Regions from separate parts of the Homo sapiens genome. Here regions 1, 3, 4 and 5 are each linked to region 2. The links are contacts of gene promoters, found by promoter capture Hi-C in blood cells and fetal thymus (Javierre and others, 2016). All regions are on one chromosome and are shown on one strand. The core of a region is centred on a gene start or on the middle of the fragment in contact, and the rest is flanking DNA. Distances in the headings are between cores, read along the strand shown. Region 1 has its middle 63 kb from the start of ARHGAP21. Region 2 holds the start of PRTFDC1 (phosphoribosyl transferase domain containing 1). Region 3 overlaps ARHGAP21 (Rho GTPase activating protein 21). Region 4 has its middle 7.5 kb from the start of ARHGAP21. Region 5 overlaps LOC105376456 (a long non-coding RNA gene).

What was found. Contacts are between HindIII fragments. The CHiCAGO score rates a contact against its expected background, and 5 or more counts as called.
Region 1: a contact is called between a fragment that was not itself captured here and the fragment with the promoter of PRTFDC1 in region 2, in 1 of 17 cell types (non-activated CD4 T cells). The highest score is 6.7, in non-activated CD4 T cells.
Region 3: a fragment that was not itself captured here is called in contact with the fragment with the promoter of PRTFDC1 in region 2 in 11 of 17 cell types (activated CD4 T cells, non-activated CD4 T cells, total CD4 T cells and 8 more); the score reaches 10.4 in activated CD4 T cells.
Region 4: a fragment that was not itself captured here is called in contact with the fragment with the promoter of PRTFDC1 in region 2 in 13 of 17 cell types (non-activated CD4 T cells, naive CD8 T cells, activated CD4 T cells and 10 more); the score reaches 15.3 in non-activated CD4 T cells.
Region 5: a fragment that was not itself captured here is called in contact with the fragment with the promoter of PRTFDC1 in region 2 in 2 of 17 cell types (naive CD8 T cells and activated CD4 T cells); the score reaches 5.4 in naive CD8 T cells.

What each region holds. Positions count from the first base shown.
Region 1 is chr10:24,785,782-24,788,586 of GRCh38, reverse strand. No RefSeq gene overlaps it. Among named protein-coding and RNA genes, the nearest start is that of ARHGAP21, 63 kb to the right of the region's middle. The HindIII fragment of the contact is 1,967 bases long and covers 514-2,480 here.
Region 2 is chr10:24,951,280-24,953,979 of GRCh38, reverse strand. It overlaps PRTFDC1 (phosphoribosyl transferase domain containing 1), which reads left to right and starts at 1,374. Exons shown (of 9, transcript NM_020200.7): 1 at 1,374-1,452. The coding sequence starts at 1,405. It also overlaps a transcript of THNSL1 not described here. RefSeq lists a silencer at 1,024-1,213. The HindIII fragment of the contact is 20,553 bases long and covers 1-2,700 here.
Region 3 is chr10:24,699,128-24,701,835 of GRCh38, reverse strand. All of the region lies in intron 2 of ARHGAP21 (Rho GTPase activating protein 21), which reads left to right. Among named protein-coding and RNA genes, the nearest start is that of ARHGAP21, 23 kb to the left of the region's middle. The HindIII fragment of the contact is 889 bases long and covers 914-1,802 here.
Region 4 is chr10:24,730,030-24,732,729 of GRCh38, reverse strand. No RefSeq gene overlaps it. Among named protein-coding and RNA genes, the nearest start is that of ARHGAP21, 7.5 kb to the right of the region's middle. The HindIII fragment of the contact is 2,284 bases long and covers 117-2,400 here.
Region 5 is chr10:24,759,791-24,762,490 of GRCh38, reverse strand. The region is part of intron 2 of LOC105376456 (a long non-coding RNA gene); the gene reads left to right. Among named protein-coding and RNA genes, the nearest start is that of ARHGAP21, 37 kb to the right of the region's middle. RefSeq lists a silencer at 1-144. The HindIII fragment of the contact is 3,716 bases long and covers 1-2,700 here.

The DNA.
Region 1 (2,805 bases), core at 248-2,747, 170 kb after region 2:
CTTATAAATATTGTACACTTAGGCAACACTACATTTATTTTAAAATTTTTTTGTTCTTCAATAATTTACTCTTAGCTTACTATAACTTTTTTTATTTTATAAACTAGATTTTTAAAACTTTTAGACTTTTTGCAATAATGCTGCTTAAAACAAATACATTTTACAGCTGTATAAAAGTATCTTTCTTTTTTTCTGTTGAGACAGACTCGTGCTCTGTTGCCCAGGCTGGAGTGCAGTGGTGCCATCTCAGGTCACTGCAACCTCTGCCTCCCAGGTTCAAGCGATTCTTGTGACTTAGCCTCCCAAGTAGCTGGGACTACAGACGCCTGCCACCACGATCGGCTAATTTTTGTATTGTTCGTAGAGACAGGGCTTCACCGTGTTGGCCAGGCTGGTCTCAAACTCCTGGCCTCAAGTGATCTGCCCACCTCAGCCTCCCAAGCTGCTGGGATTATAGGCATTAGCCACCGTGCCTGGCCTATTTTCTTTCTTTATATCTTTATTCTATAAGCTTTTCTCTATTTTTATATTTTTTAATTTTTATTGTTTTACTTTTTAAACTTTTTTTATTAAAAACTAAGACACAACCAGACATTAGCCTTGGCCTACACAGGGTCAGGATCACCAACATCACTGTCTTCCACCTCCACATTTTGTCCCACTGGAAGGTCTTCAGGTGCAGTAACATACATAGAGCGCTCATGTCCTGTGATGACAATGCCTTCTCCTGGAATACTTCCTGAAGACCCTTCCCAAGGCTGTTTTACAGTTAACTTTTTAAAAATAAGTAGGAGTACAAGCTCAAATAACGATAAAAAGTATAGTATAGTAAGTATATAACCCAGTAACATAATTATTTATTAGCAAATATTATATGCGCTAACCTTGTATATGACTGGCAGTACAACAGTTTTGTTGACACCAGCATCACCACAAACACGTGAGTAACACGTAGTGCGCTACAACGTTATGACAGTGACGATGCCACTAGCGATAGGAGTTTTTCAACTGCATTGTAACCTTGTTTTTTGGGGTTTTGTTTTTGTTTTGTTTTGTTTTGTTTTTGAGACAGAGTCTTGCCCTGTCACCCAGGCTAAAGTGCAGTGGCACCATCTCGGCTCACTACAACGTCCACCTCCCGGGTTCAAGCGATTCTCCTGCCTCAGCCTCCCAAGTAGCTGGGATTACAGACACCCACTGCCACATCAGGCTAATTTTTGTATTTTTAGTAGAGACAGGGTTTCGCCTTGTTGGCCAGGCTGGTCTCAAACGCCTGACCTCAAGAGATCTGCCCCCCTTGGCCTCCCAAAGTGCTGGGATTACAGGCCTGAGCCACTTGTACCCAGCCAACTGCATTGTAATCTTATGGGGCCACCCCTGTATCTGTAGTCTGTCTCGACAGAAGCATCATTATGCAGTGCATGACTGTAGTAGATTCCTCCTTACGCCAGGAGAAGTTTTGCAGTAGAGCTGGAATTTCTGCCTCTAGCCACGATGCCCAGGACCACTGGCTGGCTCGGCTGATTCTCACATCTGACTGGGTTGCTGGCATCATCTTAAACTAGATACCCTTGGGTTCCCTTTCTGTCCCAGGAGCAGCAGCAGCAGCAGACCTTCCAGAAGTTTCTCTCTCTCCTTTTATTTGCTGACCCTCTTATGGAAACGCGGGACTGGAGAAATTTCAGGAAGAGATTAACCCTGTTAGACCCAGGTCTTTTGTGCCCTACATACTCCTATAGTCTTAGGCTACAATTAAGATTCCAAAAGTAGAATATCTCCAGGAAATTTGCCTTTTAAATATGCCTGCCTTGGCCAGGCATGGTGTCTCACACCTGTAATCCCAGCACTCTGGGAGGCCGAGATGGGTGGATCACTTGAGGTCAGAAGTTCAAGACCAGCCTGGCCAACATGGCGAAACCCCGTCTATACTAAAAATACAAAAATGAGCCAGGTGTGGTTGTGGGTGCCTGTAATCCCAGCTACTCAGGAGGCTGAGGCAGGAGAAGTGCTTGAATCTGGGAGGGAAAGGGTGCAGTGAGCCGAGATCACACCACTGCACTCCAGCCTGGATGACAGAGTGAGACTCCATCCTCGAAAAATAATAATAATTAAAAAAAAAAAATTTAAGTGCTTGCTTGGCCCGGCGCAGTGGTTCACGCCTGTAATCCCAACACTTTTGGAGACCAATGCACTCAGATCACTTAAGGTCAGGAGTTCAAGACCAGCCTGGCCAACATGGTGAAACCTTGTCTCTACTAAAATAAAAAATACAAAAATTAGCCGTGCGTGGTGGTGGGCACCTGTAATCCCAGCTACTCGGGAGGCTGAGATGGGAGAATCGCTTGAACCCAACAGGCGGAGGTTGCCGTGAGCTGAGATCATGCCATTGCACTCCAGCTTGAGCAACAGAGCGAGACTATCTCAAAGAAAAAAAGTATCTGCCTTATAAGGTGGGAAGCAATAATGACAGCATTAAAGCTTAAAAATGCAAGTTGAGGCCAGGCTGGGATTACAGGCATATATATATATATATATATATGTCTAGACATATATATGTGTGTGTGTATAGACATATATATATGTATAGACATATATATATATATATACTATTCTAGTATCTGAGAGGTTAAGTAAATATCCTAGCATCCCAGAGGGTTAGGGCTCAGAGAATATGTGATTTTTAAAATTATATATATATGTATGTATATACATATATATGTATATATACATATGTCATTTCACCTGGACAAAAAATTATATATACACATGTATATGTAATTTTTAAAATCACATATTCTCTGAGCC
Region 2 (2,700 bases), core at 125-2,624:
CCATTTCTGTAAGGCAGTTGCCAAGCAGATGCCTGATTTCAGGGATCTCTGGAGCTGCACCCTCCAAGGCGCTGGCGCTTAGAAACGACATGAAGAGCCAGCCCTGCTGAGCAGGACCAGGGCGCCAAGTCTGAATGACTAATATTTTTCCAACCTAGAACGTCATTAACCGATTGATAACTATTTCCCCTTTAAACTAGGCAAAATCAGCATTCCTCTCCCCTCTGTGTGCCAGAATTCGAAGATGAACAAAAGACGCCTGCATCAGGAAAACTGTGTTAAGTTCTCTTGGATTCAGGGCTTCGACCCGAATTGGGCTGAGTGAATGAAGACGCTGGTGAGATGTCAGGGACCTGGGGAATGAAGACACACCCAGAAAAAGCAGGAACCTACAGGAGTGGACAAAGAACCGGAGCATAGGCATGTGAGAGGGGTTGAAATGAACAACAGACTCATACAAGAAGGATTTCTAATCAGAAAAGAGCGATTGCTTTAGTAAAGCTGCAACCTGGAACAATTACAATCTGACCAGATGTTCTTGCAAAACTGGTAAAGCAGAGAATGTGTAAAAATCTCTCCCCCTCCTCCCCTGAATGCAGTTGACGAAAGGCCGAAAGGCTGGATCCTCAAAGCCCAGATCTGATCACTGCAGATCCGGGCCACCCTAAAAGCAATCGGGTGTAATCTTTCCAGCTCCAGGCCCTGGGATGAGGGAGGTGGGGGAAGGTGGAGAAAGGTGGAGGAAGATGGAGGGAGGTGAGGGGAGGTGGAGGGAGGTGAGGGGAGGTGGAGGGAGATGAGCGGAGGTGGAGAGAGGTGGGTGGCGGCTCCAAGGTTTGAAAACACATCCAGGACACTTCCCATCCTCCAAGAGCACGCTGGCTCACAGGCTCTTTCACGCTTCTGCTTGGGACAATCGCGTGCATGAAATCTGGCAGGGAGGAGTCAAGGAGATTGTTAGCCCGAGGGCTGGGACGGTGGATCTGGGAATCAGGGGCCTGGGGGACACGTTCTCTTCCTGCCGCGGGCTTCCTGCTCCAGAGTCCCCGCGGGGCTTGGCGGCGGGGCCGGGGGCTGCACGCGACCATCCGGCAGGGGGCGGCGGCGACAGCGGCGGCCGCAAGGGACGCGTCCGGGGCCCGCGCTCAGGGGGAGCGGTAGCGGCTTGGCAGCTGCTCCCCGCGCCCCCGCGGCCTAGCCAGGGGAGGGGGCGCAGCGCCGGGGCCATGGATCCGCGTCAGGCCGCTGCTTCCCGCCGGCGGGCCCGGGGCGGGGCGGACCCGTCCCCGTCCCCGTCCCCGTCCCCGTCCCCGTCCCCATCCCCACGTCCCATCCCCCACGCAGCCTTCGCCCTCCCTGCTCCTTCCCGCGCCGTCTTCCCTTCCCGCGTTCCCCGGGAGAAACATGGCCGGGAGCAGCGAGGAGGCGCCAGACTACGGGCGAGGCGTCGTGGTAAATGCAAACTCCCTATTTTGGGGCTCGGCCCGCTCCCCTCCCTCCCTGGCACCCTGCTTGTAGATTAAATGCTTGCCGTGCGTCGGGGGAGAGAGAGGGCCACCGCTTTGTTCTCCCTCCCGGCGGGGATCGCTTCCATCCTCGGACCCGGGCCTCCTCTCCCCGCCCCCAATCTGACGAAACTCTGAGTCCCGTCCCTTCACCCCGAGTTCCCAGCGTCCCCCCGTGTCCTCCGGCCGGTAGCTCGCTCCTGCAGCGTCCCGCCGGCGCCCAGCCGTCCCCATCCCCGCGAGCCACGGGGAGTCGCTTCTGCGAGCCCGGCAGGGCCCCAGAGACCCCCGCGTGCTGCTCTGGAGGCCTCCTTCTTCCTGGGTCTCCTCTTGACTCCTCCAGGGCGGGCTTCAAGTTTTGTTTTTAAAAAGCACACTGAGGGGTTTTGAAGGCAGCTAGGAAATAAAGTAGCTCAAGTGGACAGAGCTTGAGATTTGAAGCCTTTGGTACCCAGGTTGGGGGCTCTCTGGCAGTGGAGGCCTCTGCAGGAGCTCTAGGACACGCTGGCGGCTCCTGAGTGACCTATGGCTTGTCTGTAAAAGGGAGCAACAGCAAGCTGGGCTCTGGAGCCAATTGGGAGGATGCATGTAAAATATCTAGCAGTGTGTCCGGATGGGAGGGTGTGGGGTGCTGGTTTCCCAGAACTGAGCCTCATTAACCCTGAGAATCCTGACGGTGTCAGCCAGAGGGTACCCATCTCTCAGTGTGCTAGGATCCAACCCGTTCTTGACCTTGTGGCCACGTCCTCCCTGCTCCCTGAGAAGTGGTTTTCCTAGAAGGTGGTGGTTATAACTTGTGTCAGGTTCAGTGTGAAACTCAATGGTGGTGAGGATGGTGGGTGGGGCTAACTTGCCATCTCTTTCCAGGGATCAGCTTGTCATTCACAGATAATCTGTTTATGAATATGAATGGCCTGAACTAAAGTAAGTGGGCTGGGGAGGGAAACGTGTCACATTCAGACAGAAGGGTCAGGTTGAAATGTGGGGCTCAGTGCTTAATTTAACAGCAGGACCTTTCCTTCTGAAAGGATGAGGAGTTGATTTATTCATTCCACACGTTTATTGTCCTGCTGGGTTGTAGGAGGTGCTGTAGGCTCTGGGGTGCAAAAGACAAAGGCCTTGTCTTCATGAGCTTGCGTTCTAGAGAAGACATAGGCAAGCAGTGTGTAAACAAATAGAGAAAATTTCAAATAGA
Region 3 (2,708 bases), core at 109-2,608, 250 kb after region 2:
GCCTGCGGTCTGTTTTCAGCTCAGCATCGAGTATGATCATTTTAAACATCAGAACATGAACATGGTATTCTACCAGAGTCCACCAGAGGCTGCCCATATTAGCATAAAAGCCAAGGGCCTGAAGAGATTTTGTTCCCTTCTTTCATTATCTCCAGTACCCTGTTTCTACTTCCTTTTCAAACCCTAGTCATTCTTCTCTAACCACACTGGCCTCCTTTGCTGTTCATCTCAGGGCCTTTGCACTCACCGTTCCCACTTCCTGAAATACTTTCATTTCAGATCTCTGCATAGCCTGCTGCTTTGCTTTCTTTAGGGTTCTATTCACATGTTCCCTTCTCAGAGAAATGTTCTGTTCCAATTTAAGATATTACAAAGGGAAAAACAATCATGCCATTAAAGAAGGCACTTTTTTTTTTCTTTGAAAGAAGGTTGTAAAATGATTGGAAATTTTTATTATTTAATGGAAATCTCATTTTGTATAAGTCCATTTCAGGAAAGAAGAGCCGGAGGAATCCTAGATTGGATCCTTCGAACTGGAAACGACAAGGAGATACCCACACCAAAGAGGCCTCAAGCTTAGTGAAGTTCCCTCTCTCCCTGGGGAAACCAAATGGAAGAGGGAAAGAGAGGCTGCATAGAGCATTTTTTTTTTTAATTTTTACTGCTTTCTCCCTGAAGCTCCTTCCTCTTGTCTTCCTCCTCCGCTCCTCCTGTTTTGTTAAATTGTGTCCTAGTTCTCTGTTCCTTAGAGCTGTTAAAATCAGCAGCTGCTTCTAACACCAGTAGACGGAGGCTTTACGTTGATAAGCTAGGAAATTGGAAATAGGCCTTTTGACACTTAAGGTACCTTAAATTCTTGCTACTTTAAGTGTGGTCTATGAACTGACCAGCAGTATCTACACTCCGGGAAGCTTGTAAGAAATGCGGATGTTCTGGTCTCACTCTAGACTTTAGGGAATCAGAATTTGCAGTTTAACAAGATCGTCAGGTGATTCTTCCACACATTAAAGCTCTGCCTTCAATGGCCAAAAGAGAGTTAAAGGTTATTTTTGAGAGGTACTTAATTTGTTTTTCTTTAAATATTACTTTACATTGTATCATCCTTTTAAAAATTAGGACAAATGCAAAGTATTATGGTGTTACCACTTACCATATTATTTAAATAATTATGTAGAAAAATTCTAAGTGGCTAAATGGTACTTCTTTTTTGCAACCACTGGATAAGATCCTAAATTAATCCAGAATACCTAATCATAAAGAAAAGCCTCAATTTTTCATGTTTTATATTTCATTGTTAACATAAATGGAAAAATCGAAACCATCTTTAATTCTTATTATTTTAATCAGTTAGGGAGCCTGGAAATTGGACTTTAGGCTGAGAACTCCGAGGGTTTTGCCTTGCCTAGGTGTAATACTTTAAATTGGCTTTTTTCCTGGCTTGACCTCCAGGCCAGCCTCTCTGTAGCGTTGTGGGTGTGCTGTGTGAGTGCTCTCTCTGCACGTGCTTGCGGCGCACTTCCACACTCATCACCTTGTGTATAAGACATCAGCTGGAAATGGCACAGGGAAACCTTGCTGGTGGGCAGGGTGCATATGGGATGAGCAGAGACACTAATATGTGCAGGGACACAACGGGCATTGCCAAAATGCACAGATGGCTGGTTTTCCACAGGTGGATCTTGCAGGTGAGAGCAAGGGGACGGGAATTAAAGGACAGAGGCCTATTAACCATTGTTAGGAGAAATCCAGCCAGACCGCTTCTGTATTTCACCAGCAGTATTGGAGAACCATTGACCTAAGCTTCAGAATTGCAGCTATCACAGCTATTGGCCTTCAGCAGGGGAGGAAAAAAAACACCTCTCTCTGCCCCTCACAGCAAGCTTCTAAAATGATGAAAAATGCCGCAGGAACGTTAGTTGAATATTTTGTGAGTGATGAAGAATAGGTAATATTTAGTGAGTACTTAACTATGTGTCAGACTATTTAACCAACTCTACAGAGATGCTATGAATATCACATTCCCATTTTACAGACGAAGAAGCTGATAAACAAGGGCTTAAGTCTCTTGTCGGGGCCACATAGCTAAGAAGGTGCAGAGCAGCACGCAGGCCCAGGGAGTGAGACTCCAAAGTCTGGGTGCTTGATGCCTTCTCTTTACCGAAGGATATAATGTAGTGTTCTAGTCATCAGCTTTTAAAACTAGTAATTCTAGGCCGGGCACGGTGACTCATGCCTGTAATCCCAGCACTTTGGGAGGCCGAGGTGAGCCGATCACCTGAGGTCAGGAGTTGGAGACCAGCCTGGCCAACATGGTGAAACCCTATCTCTACTAAAAATACAAAAATTAGCTGGGCATGGTGGCAGGCGCCTGTAATCCCACCTACTCGGGAGGCTGAGGCAGGAGAATCGCTTGAACCTGGGAGGTGGAGGTTGCAATGAGCCAAGGTCGCACCATTGCACGCCAGCCTGGGGGACGAGTGAGACTCCATCTCAAAAAAATAATAATAATAATAATAATTCTAAAGATGTATCAGACATCTAGAGTAAATAATAAAATTATATGGATATAATATGCAAATATATGTGTAAATTATATATTTCCCTCCCATTCCCAATTGCTGGCCAATTTAGGGAGTAGTGGAGAGAAGTAGACTGAAAAAGAGATAATAGGAGCCAGAAAGGGGACGAAAAGATGAAAGGAATGTCTG
Region 4 (2,700 bases), core at 9-2,508, 220 kb after region 2:
TAATGTGACTTAAAGATTGAATCATGTGGTCATTCACATTTAAAAGCAGCTGAAAGGCTGGGTGCAGTGGCTCATGCCTGTAATCCCAGAACTTTGGGAGACTAAGGTGTGAAGCTTGCTTGAGGCTGGGAGTTCAAGAATAGCTTGGGCTAAAAATTAGCTACAACACCCAGGTAATTTTTAAATGTTTTTGTAGAGATAGGTCTAATTATGTTGACCAGGCTGGTCTTGAATTCCTGGGCTCAAAAAATCCTTATGCCTCGGCCTCCCAAAGTGTTGGATTACAGGTGTGAGCCACTATGCCCAACAGTTTTTTTTTTAATGAGACACACACTAAAATCTGATTTGTTTATTGCCTGCAACATTTTTCTTTTCTTTTTTTTTTTTTTGGTTTCAAACACCAATTTGAATGAGGCTTTTTTATACTAAAAAGTTATCTGTTGTTTATCTGATGTTCAAATTGAACTGTGTGCTCATTGTTTTTATTTGCTAAACTTGGCAACCCTACCTCCAGTCACTGTGAATCGGGGAAGGGTCTAGGAAGGCACAGATCTAAGCCTTTTAAGGGAAGACTTCCAGAGTGACACACAATCATTCCTGCCCACATTTCATTGCCTAGAATTTAGTCATGGCCACACCTAGACACACCTAGATAGAAAGTCTAGCTTGTTAACCAGGTGCCTAACTAAAATACTACTATTATAGGAGAAGGAGAGAACAGATTTGGGGGAACATTTAGCAGGCTACCATAGTATATCTTTGAAAAAAATTTTTTTTAGTTTCATTAGTTGTAAATTCTGTCAGAGACATCAATTTCTCTAAATCAGATTTCTGTTGTCTTCTATATTTTTCATCTCCTGTCTAATCACTTTAATCTTTGTCCTTTTCCTTTGTATTTGATGTGCTTTAAAACAAATCTGTCATCCATCCCACAATTTTCTGCTAGATATTTCTTATTTTTATTTTTTAAAAATAGAGATGAGGTCTCACTGTGTTGCCCAGGCTGGTCTTGAATTCCCAGGCTCAAGTGATCCTCCCACCTTGGCCTCTGTGCTAGGATTACAGGCATGAGCCACTGTGCCCGGCCAGACATTTCTTATTTCTTCTTATTTCTAATTCATGTATTATTTCTGCAACGGTATGATTTTTCCCTCTCAATACCTTCTCTTAGCCATTCTAACATCTTTTATATTTCATTCATTCTCTTGTGATTTCACTTTTGATATATTTTATTTTCTTCGGGGTATGAAACATTTGTCTCTATATTTCTTCTGCTTACTGGGGTTAATCTTCTTCCATAATATATCTTTTCTTTTTAGAATATATTCCTTTATTTCATCTCTTCCCCAATATCACAATTTAAAATGTTTATGTCAGTCTTATTTCCTTTTCATTCATCTTTGATGAATATTTACTATCTAAAATTTCTATTTATATTGAAAGAAACAGGGTGGATGAATTATCTTTGAGGACCCCAGGCTTCTTGTTGGATTCAAGCAATGAGGAGCCACAGAAGAAAGCTGGAAGGAGGCATGAGAATGGGTTCGTAAAATGTGGTATGAGATTGGGCCCCTTCATAGTTTTAGTGTTTGTTTTTTTCTTTTTTACTTCGTAATTTTTAAAAATTAAAATATAATTGAAAAAATCTTTGAGGAGAAAGGTTATGTAAGCCTGCCATCTATCCTACTTAAGCCCAGATGTGAATTACCACATATTGCCCTGCGATCTTTTCCTATCTGAGGGAAGAAGCCTTGGTTAGTTGACTTTTGGATTAATAAGGAATGCAAGCAATTATAGGGATAGAGGAATGGAATCTACAGTGCTAGACAATATTGAAAGATACTCAGAGTTTCTTGAATCAAGGAATAGAGAAGTCTTTAGGTGTCTTTCCTGATTCTGCTCAATGACAATGAAAGGGAAGGCTAGAACTTTTTATTTTTTTTGATGAAAAGATTTGATTACTTTGGATTAGGCCTATGATATTAAAAATCAACTGCTAGCACAGTTTCCTAGTTAAAATGTTTGGAATTTAGCATTCTATTCCAAAATGATAAAAACATATTTCAATTCTCCAGTTGTAATATGGGTTTCTCCAGATTGCACTGTATTTTCACAATGTTCCAACTCATATTTAGTTGGGTGGGTGGAAACATTTTAAAAACTAGTCTCATATTTTTAAGGAAAGTTGGAATACTTATAAATGAAAGTCACGATTCTTAGGATAAAATAAAAACTTGCACATGGATTTTTTATTCATATTTTTTCTTAAAACATATAAATAAACTTAACAATGTTGATGACTATGACTAGCATACCACTAAATTTTAATTATGGAAATTCTAATGCTGAATAATAATTTGGATCTAAAGAAAACTTTTGATATATGATTATGGATAAGCTTTGGGGTGAAATTTTATAGTTTCTACCAAAATGTAAGTGATATTAATTTTTAGGATGGTCTTATGGCTGAAAAACAGCTAAATCGCTGGCAGTGAAGTTTATTTATTTATTTATTTGAGATGGAGTGTCACTCTGTCAACCAGGCTTGGCCCTGCCTCCCAGGTTCAAGCAATTCTCCTGTCTCAGCCTCCTGAGTAAGCTGGGATTACAGGACCGTGCCACCATGCCCAGCTAATTTTTGTAGTTTTAGTAGAGATGGGGTTTTACCATGTTGTCCAGGCTGGTCTCGAATGTCTGACC
Region 5 (2,700 bases), core at 128-2,627, 190 kb after region 2:
ACAGCTAAACAGATAAACTGTTTCCGTTTGTGGTTTGAGTCCTGTTTTCTCTATGATTTCCTCCAAAAGAAAGAGCAATAAGTAAAACAGGGCAAACATGAGCTGTGTCAACATAGCAAAACACCTGCAGAACAACAACTCCAAGCTGACAAAGACTTATGCAACTGTTTAATGGTTTGTCCTGGATCCAACAGTAAGATTTTCCTGACAGTAACTCTCTCCCTGCCAAAGAGGCCATAACCCTTGAATCTGGTAGAGAAATTGGAGAGTATAATACTGTACTGTTGCTTCTGGCAGTGACAGAGTGAAATATGTGGTTGGAGTTTTTTTTTTTTAAAAAAGATATATGTAGATTAGCACACAAGGCAGAAAACAATAAAGATAACAACCAAAACATCTAAAATATATAGGCTTTTGACTAGGCGCGGTGGCTCATGCCTGTAATCCCAGCACTTTGGGAGGCCAAGGCGGGTGGATTGTTTGAGGACAGGAGTTAGACACTACCGTGGTGAAACCCCATCTCTACTAAAAATGCAAAAATTAGCCGGGTGTGATGGCATGTGCCTGTAATCCCAGCTTCTTGGGAGGCTGAGGCTTGAGAATCACTTGAACTCGGGAGGCAGAGGTTGCAGTGAGCTGAGATCGCACCATTGCACTCCAGCCTGGGCGACAGAGCAAGACTTTGTCTCAAAAAATAAAATAAAATAAAATAAAACAAAATATCTAGGATTTCACATTTGCAAAGCAGTTTTACATACATTATGTTAGTCCCTTCACCCCTATGCACATATATATAACAAACCTTAGGGTGTCTGTAATTTTCTTCATTGTACAGATAAGGAAAAGGGTTCCGAGCAATGGAAATATTTACTCAGGGTCATAAAATAATATTTCTCTTTGATATTTTCAACTCTTATGCATTAATCAACTAATTCAATTTATGAAATATATACGATTATTGACTTTTAGTAGAGCCATTCCTGAGCTTTGACACAATGTTTAAAACTCATTAAAGTGACTTCTGGTTTAAACGTATATAAAGTGTCTCCCAATTGTCCACTAAAATAGCTATGAAACTACAGAAAAAAAGAAGAAAAATTAACACAAGGAAAATTAAGACATATACAACTTATCAGAATCTGGGGTGAGTCTTTATTAACTGAAAATTAGATTTGGCAAACATTAATGGGAAATTTTGAACACTTATTCTGTGCCAAGTACCTTGCTAGGTACTAGGAATACACAGTGGACAAATACCATCATGCTATTGGCCTTTACAGAGCTTACGGTCTAACTTGACTGAGAAAATCACTCAGACATTGCTTCACAGTATACCTAACTCGCCTGAAAAGATGTAGGAGCACTTTTTTTTATCAGCCCTGTTATTCTTGCATTCAGAGATTCTGCAGCAATTGGAATATTGGGCAGAGAGTATATTGCTCATAGATCCCAAATTATGTGGCAGCCACAGCACTGATTCACTGATTATTCTTCTTCTTCTTTTTTTTTTTTTCTGCCAGCACCTGATCTTGGATGCCTGGCTAACTGTTTTTAGAGATGAGGTCTTGCTATGCTGCCCAGGCTGGTCCTGAACTGCTGGCCTCAAGTGATCCTCCCTCCTCAGCCTCCCAAGGTATTGGGATTAAAGGTGTGAGCCACTGTGCCCAGCCTGATTCTTTCTTCTTATTCTTCACCTCACTCTCCCATCCCCCCATATCTTTCTATATTGTTACATTAACTAGGACAGTAGATGTAAAATCCTTAGCATAATCTTTGAGTCAGAATATGTTCCTATTAATGTTAGCCAATTTCATTATCAGTTTTTACAATTCAGAGGTAACAACCAAAGACTGATTGGGCAGAAAGTAGTGCTCTGGAAGGCTGGTGGTAGTATATTGCAGGTATAGACTCCATGCATAAAGTTTCAAAGGCAGAGGGTCAAAACTGGAAGAATCCCAATAGGGGTGCTGTATCAGTCAGGGTTCCTCAGAGAAACAGAACCAATAGTGTATTAGTCCATTCCCACACGGCTATAAAGAACTACATGAGACTGGGTAATTTATGAAGAAAAGAGGTTTAATTGACTCATAGTTCTACAGGCTGTACAGGAGGCATGGCTGGGGAGGCCTCAGGAAACTTACAATCATGGCAGAAGGCAAAGGGGAAACCGGCACATCTTACATGGCCAGAGCAGGAGGAAGAGAGAGAGTGAAGGGGGAAGTGCTAGACACTTTCAAACAACCAGATCTCGTAAGAACTCCATCATGAGACAGCACTGGAGGATGATGCTAAACCATTAGAAACCATCCCCATGATCCAATCACCTCCCGCCAGGCCCCTCCACCAACACTGGGAATTACAATTTGACATGAGATTTGAGTGGGGACACAGAGCCAAACCACATCAAATAGGATGTGTACAAAAAAAGATTTATTATAAGGAATTGGCTTATGCAATTATGGAGGCTGACAAGTCCCAAAGTTGGCCGTCAGCAAGCTGGAGACCCAGGAGAGCCAATGGTGTATGGAGTTCCAGTCCCAAAGCCAAACAGGCTTAAGACACAGGAAGAGTACATGTTTCAATTCAAGTCCGAAGGCAGGGAAAAAAACAATGTCACAGCTTGAATGCAGTCAAGCAGAAGGAGTTTTCTATTACCCAGCCTTTTTGTTCTATTCAGGCCTTCAACAGATTGGATAATGG